Regions from separate parts of the Homo sapiens genome. Here region 2 is linked to region 1. The links are contacts of gene promoters, found by promoter capture Hi-C in human tissues and cell types (Jung and others, 2019). All regions are on one chromosome and are shown on one strand. Each heading gives the region's core, a stretch centred on a gene start or on the middle of the fragment in contact. The rest is flanking DNA. Distances are from core to core; before and after follow the strand shown. Region 1 holds the start of ATF1 (activating transcription factor 1). Region 2 overlaps BIN2 (bridging integrator 2).

Region 1 (2,748 bases), core at 176-2,675:
CAAACAAACAAAACAAAACAAAAACTGGCAAAGATAGCACACCCTATATTTAAAGTCAGAAGGGACTGCCACCTGCTGGTGATCGGGTAGGAATGGACAGATAGCTCACAGACCAAACCTAACCCTAAAAGATAACGGCAAGTATTAAAGAGCTAATACATTCGACTTTAGGGCAACAGTATTGATTCTAATTAAGACACGGAGATAACTGCATATGATAAACTCCAAGAAAAAAGAGCATTTTAGAAGAACGCATTTCTGTTAACAAAAACCTCAGGTTAAAATGCATTCTGAGACATAAATGCCTACGAACTCATCACAGGTGAGGCCAGTTTGACAAAGATGCCTGCCAGATCCACGCCGAGCTTCTGAACCCTAAAGGTTCTCAAAGACTACCAGTTGCCCAATCTCTTCAAAACACTAGCGCCACAACCAGACATTATTTCACATTGCAATCATTTCAAAGCGATTCAGCCGCCAGCTGCACGGCGTCGATCAAAGTGAGAAATGCCAGGCTTCGTTTTTTGACATACAAGATCAAAGAGAAAGTCACCCTCGGCTGGGTCGCCCATCCCAAAGGGTACAGACGCCCTTGTGTCATTCCTAGCCAGGGGTAAAGCCGCCTACTGTCCCCACTCTGTCTCCGCTGCCAGGCGCATCTCTCCAGGACTGTCTGGGGCGTGCGCAATGCCCGTGCGTCGGTTGCCCGCTAGACTGCAAGCTCCAGGAGGGTAAGGGGCGCGCCTCTTCCCTCAGGGTCGCCAGCGCCGACGCGCTTCGAGGACCCTGTCGCGGGGTTAACCAGACCCGGGCTCCGCTCGGCGGACACCGCGCCGAGGCCATATCCGCGCCGCCCTCCGCCCGGCTCCGGGCCCAACCTCGAGACCTCCCACGGAGAGCTAGCGCCTGCGACTGCAAAGGGCGGCTTCTGAGGCGAAAGCCACCCCGCGGCGGGCGGTTTCGGGCTTTACTTTTATTTGGGGGCGAGGGAAAGGAGGAGACGCACGACTGGAAGGGCGCAGCGCAGCTCTGCACCGAGGCGCGGAGGCCGGAAGCGCGGGCGGCCCCTCCCCCTGCCGCTGCGCCCCTCCCCCACCGCCACCACCGCGCGCGACCCCCACCAGGCGCGCGACCCGCGCTGCGTCCCCGCCGGCGCCACGTTCCCGCGTCCTTCCCCGCCCGGGCCACGGGGCACGTCCCTCCCCGCCCCCCACTTACCTGTGGCTGCCGCCTCGCCGCTCTCCGGGGCGGGAACTTCCACTCCCCCCTCCCAGGTAGATCCGAATTCACTACCCACTTCCCCACCCCCTCACGCAGCGGGGGACAAGCCTCCTTCTCGGGGGTCAGGCGGGGCGGGGAGAATCAGTGTCACTTAACAGCCAACTGTCCTAAGCTACCGTTTCCTCGGCAGTCAGGGCCGCTACTGGCGGCATGATCTACACAAGCCTGGGGGCGGGGGCGGGGGCGGGGGAGGGGAGGGGGGCAAAACTGAGCACTAGTGTGCGTTTGGGGTAGGCTATGGCGCTGCCTCCGCGCGGGCCGCCGTCCTGCGTCACCGCGCTGCCCACGTGACGCGCCGCCATCTTGTACGCGGTCCTGACTTGTGGCTAGGGGTTCCTCGGAACGCGTTCCTCAGGCTGCAGCGGGAGAGGGACGGTGCCTGCGGTTCCGTTTCTCCTTAGGAGCTGTACCCCACCCGCCCTACGTCCGCTTCCGGAGGCCATGAGCAGCTGGGTGCTCGCGGGGGGCGTTTTCATCGATTAGTGGCGGCGCTGTCAACTCACCTGCCAATTGACCTTGACCGACGCCGGCCCTGTCCTCTTGGAAGGAGAAATGAAGAGTGAAGGCTTTGACTTCCTCAGCTTTTTTTTTTTTTTTTTTTTTTTAGATGGAGTCTCTTTTTTTTTTCCGAGATTGAGACGGGGGTCTGTGGCCCAGGCTGTAGTGCAGTGGTTCGATCTCGACTCACTGCAGCCTCCAACCCCGGGATTCAAGCGATTCTCCAACCTCAGCCTATGGGGCAGCTGGGACCACAGGCGCGCGCTACCACGCTCGGCTTGAAGAGATGAGGACTCTATGTTGCTCAGGCTGGTCTTGAACTCCTGGGCTCAAGTGATCCTCCGCCTCGGCCTCTCAAAGTTCTGGGATTACAGGCGTGAGCCACCGTGCCCGGCCTTACTCAGATTTTTCTTAATCCCATAAAGTAACAATGAGTTGTGTCCTTTAACCCATGTGGAAGGATTTTCTACAGAAACGGATTTACAATGAGACATAACGATGTGGCCGGGCGCGGTGGCTCATGCCTGTAATCCCAGCACTTTGGGAGGCCCAGGAGGGCGGATCACCTGAGATCGGGAGTTCGAAACCAGCCTGACCAACATGGAGAAACCCCGTCTCTACTAAAAAATACAAAAGTAGCCGGGTGTGGTGGCGAATGCCTGTAATCCAAGCTACTTGGGAGGCTGAGGCAGGAGAATCGCTTGAACCCGGGAGGCGGAGGTTGCGGTGAGCCGAGATCGCACCGTTGCACTCCAGCCTGGGCAACAAGAGCAAAACTGTCTCAAAAAAAAAGAAAAAAGAAACGTAACAGAGTGTTAATAAAATGTTATGCCGTCATTTTAATGCATTACAAAAACTTCAGAATATTTTTGGGTCTACCTCTCTGGAAGGGAGTTATGCCTTATTCTTAATTTTTAAAATTTCCTTGTAAAATGCTGTTTTATGGCTTTAATGATAGTAAACGACAAA
Region 2 (2,748 bases), core at 120-2,619, 520 kb before region 1:
GACCATTTTAAGAAACAGGCTAGTAACACTGTCCTCCCTGGAAAAGAGGTACAGGATACACTCTCCTTCCGCCTGAGTCTGTCTCCTTATATTTTAGATTTATAATATTTCCTTACTCTTAGCCTCTCTGGTGGGATTGCTTTGGTCATCAGCTAAGGAGAAATATTTTTCCTGTAGAATTAAGCAACTAGAGCATCTTAGATCCTAGCCTATTCGTGTCATCAATCCTCTGAAGCCTGTGTATGCTCACTTCCCTTGCAGATGCATTATAAATCATATTTTCTCTCAGGCAGAATTATGGACATGTCACATGTAAAAATGGGTAAATATAAATATAACTGGGAAAAAACATAGCCATTTTTGAAAAAAAATTACTGGGAAAAAATCTGTTCTTGCTTACCATTTGAATCATCTCAGAGAGATGGAAGGTTTTGATAACTTTCCGGGAGGTGATGTAACATCACCTCTGAGCTAATTCATGACCTGGAAAGGGAGGAGGGAGTAAAAAGAAAGAAAATGTCCTTGAAGGAGAAATCTTGGAATTTCAAGTGGCTATCACACTGTTAGAAATTGGTTCTGTTGGCCAGGTGCCATGGCTCACACCTGTAATCCCAACACTTTGGGAGGCTGAGGGGAGTGGATCACTTGAGGTTGGGAGGTTGAGACCAGCCTTGCTAACATAGTGAAGCCTCATCTCTACTAAAAGTCAGGCATGGTGGTGGGCGCCTGTAATCCCAGCTACTTGGGAGACTGAGGCAGGAGAATCGCTTGAACCTGGGAGGTGGAGGTTGCAGTGAACCAAGATCACGCCACTGCACTCCAGCCTGGGTGACAGAGCCAGATTCCTTCTCAAAAAAAAAAAAAAAGAAAGAAAGAAAAAATTAAAAAGAAATTGGTTCTGTTTTTAAAATATGAATTTATAGTTTGTAAATTAAATTTCATGTTTTAAAAACTTATTTTAAACCTCACAGGGTCTTCCCCTAGCATAGCAGTTTCTAGGCAGGGCTTTCTTTCTTTTTTTTAAAATTTATATTTTTAGAGATGATCTCACTATGTTGCCCAGGCTGGAGTGCAGTGGGTATTCACAGGTGCAATCATAGTGCACTGCAACCTTGATACTCCTGGCCTCAAGTGATCCTCCTGCCTCAGCCTCTCAAGGAGCTGGGACTACAGGTGTGCACCCCTGCACGTGGTCTAGACTGGGCTTCCTACACCTTGGGTTCCCATCTCAGAACCTAAAATTTTTCCCAAAGAAATTATTTTACCACTTGCTTCTCCTAACTGCGTGTCATGAATTAGGATCACTTAAGTGTGAGAGTTGCAGTACATTCTTGAGGACGGTTCATCTAAAAGTGGCAGGTAGTAATTTTAAGACCTCGCACTCCCTTATAGATACACATCCACACCATGTCACACAGATTACATGGTGTTTGATCATGGAAACAACTCAGGAATTCAAAGACCTGGTTTCCTGTCCCAGCAAGTCTTTTTACCCTTTGAATCTTAGTTTATTCATCTGTAAAAGAGGATGGATGAAAGCCTTTCCCGATGCCTTCAGGCTCTGGTGAAACAACACTGTATTTTGCCCTTTGTAATAGTACAAATACTGAGACCCTTGTAAAGTATAAGGCACAGAAGACACTTCTATGCTGAGAGGCTGGAAAGGTTGAGCCACCTCTTACTGGCAGAACTCTTCTCTTTGTAGGGCCAAGACCAGCTTCAAGTCTCCATGGTACCAGAAAACAACAACCTCACAGCACCTGAACCTCAAGAAGAGGTAAGACCAGATATACAGAGAATAGATTGGGCATTAGATTGACAGGGGTTTGGGAAAAGGCTGGAATCTTCACCACAGGCTACAAGGGGAATCCGGCAGTGAACCATACCCTTAGGGCAGTCAAGCAGGTGGGAATCAGAGGAAACAAGAATGAACTGGGACTTCGTGGTATCTCCGTGCCCATTTTCCTATACTTGACCTTAAACTGGCCCTATCTTCTAGGTATTTATTTAATTAAATCTCAAATTATTTCAAAAAGGAGTTAAAGAGGTTAAGATATTTTTTTTAAATGCAAAAAGGTCATATTATACAGTAATGTGTTGCTCAACAACAAGGATATGCTCTGAGAAATGCATTATTAGACGATTTTGTCATTATGTGTGGCTGTATGGTATAGCCTATTGCTTCTAGGCTGCAAACCTATACAGCATGTTACTTTACTGAATTCTGTAGGCAGCTGTGACACAGTGGTTAATATTTGTGTATCTAAACATAGAAAAGTACAGTAAAAATAGCATATAGAAAATAAAAAGTGATACACTTGTATAGGGCACTATCATGAGTGGAGCTTGCAGGAGTGGAAGCTTCTCTGGGTGAGTCAGTGAGTGAGTGGTGAGTGAATGTGAAGGCCTAGGACATTACTTACACTCCTATAGACTATAAACACTGTACACTTAGGCTACACCATTAAAAAATATTTTTCTTTTCTTTTTTTTTTTTTTGAGACGGAGTTTCACTCTTGTTGCCCAGGTTGGAGTGCAATGGCATGATCTCGGCTCACCGCAGCCTTGGCCTCTGGGTTCAAGCAATTCTCCTGCCTCAGCCTCCTGAGTAGCTGGGATTACAGGCATGCGCCACCACGCCCAGCTAATTTTGTACTTTTAGTAGAGACGGGGTTTCTCCATGTTGGTCAGGCTGGTCTCAAACTCCCGACCTCAGATGATGCACCTGCCTTGGCCTCCCAAAGTGCT

What was found. Contacts are between HindIII fragments. The study calls those that stand out against the background at their distance.
Region 2: a fragment that was not itself captured here is called in contact with the fragment with the promoter of ATF1 in region 1 in 1 of the 25 tissues and cell types used here (aorta).

Annotation. Positions count from the first base shown.
Region 1 is chr12:50,762,778-50,765,525 of GRCh38, reverse strand. ATF1 (activating transcription factor 1) reads right to left here and starts at 1,425. Exons shown (of 7, transcript NM_005171.5): 1 at 1,219-1,425. RefSeq lists an enhancer at 562-661 and silencers at 1,082-1,171, 1,392-1,471. The HindIII fragment of the contact is 17,018 bases long and covers 1-2,748 here.
Region 2 is chr12:51,283,745-51,286,492 of GRCh38, reverse strand. It overlaps BIN2 (bridging integrator 2), which reads left to right. Exons shown (of 13, transcript NM_016293.4): 12 at 1,706-1,777. Among named protein-coding and RNA genes, the nearest start is that of SMAGP, 15 kb to the right of the region's middle. The HindIII fragment of the contact is 4,435 bases long and covers 1-2,748 here.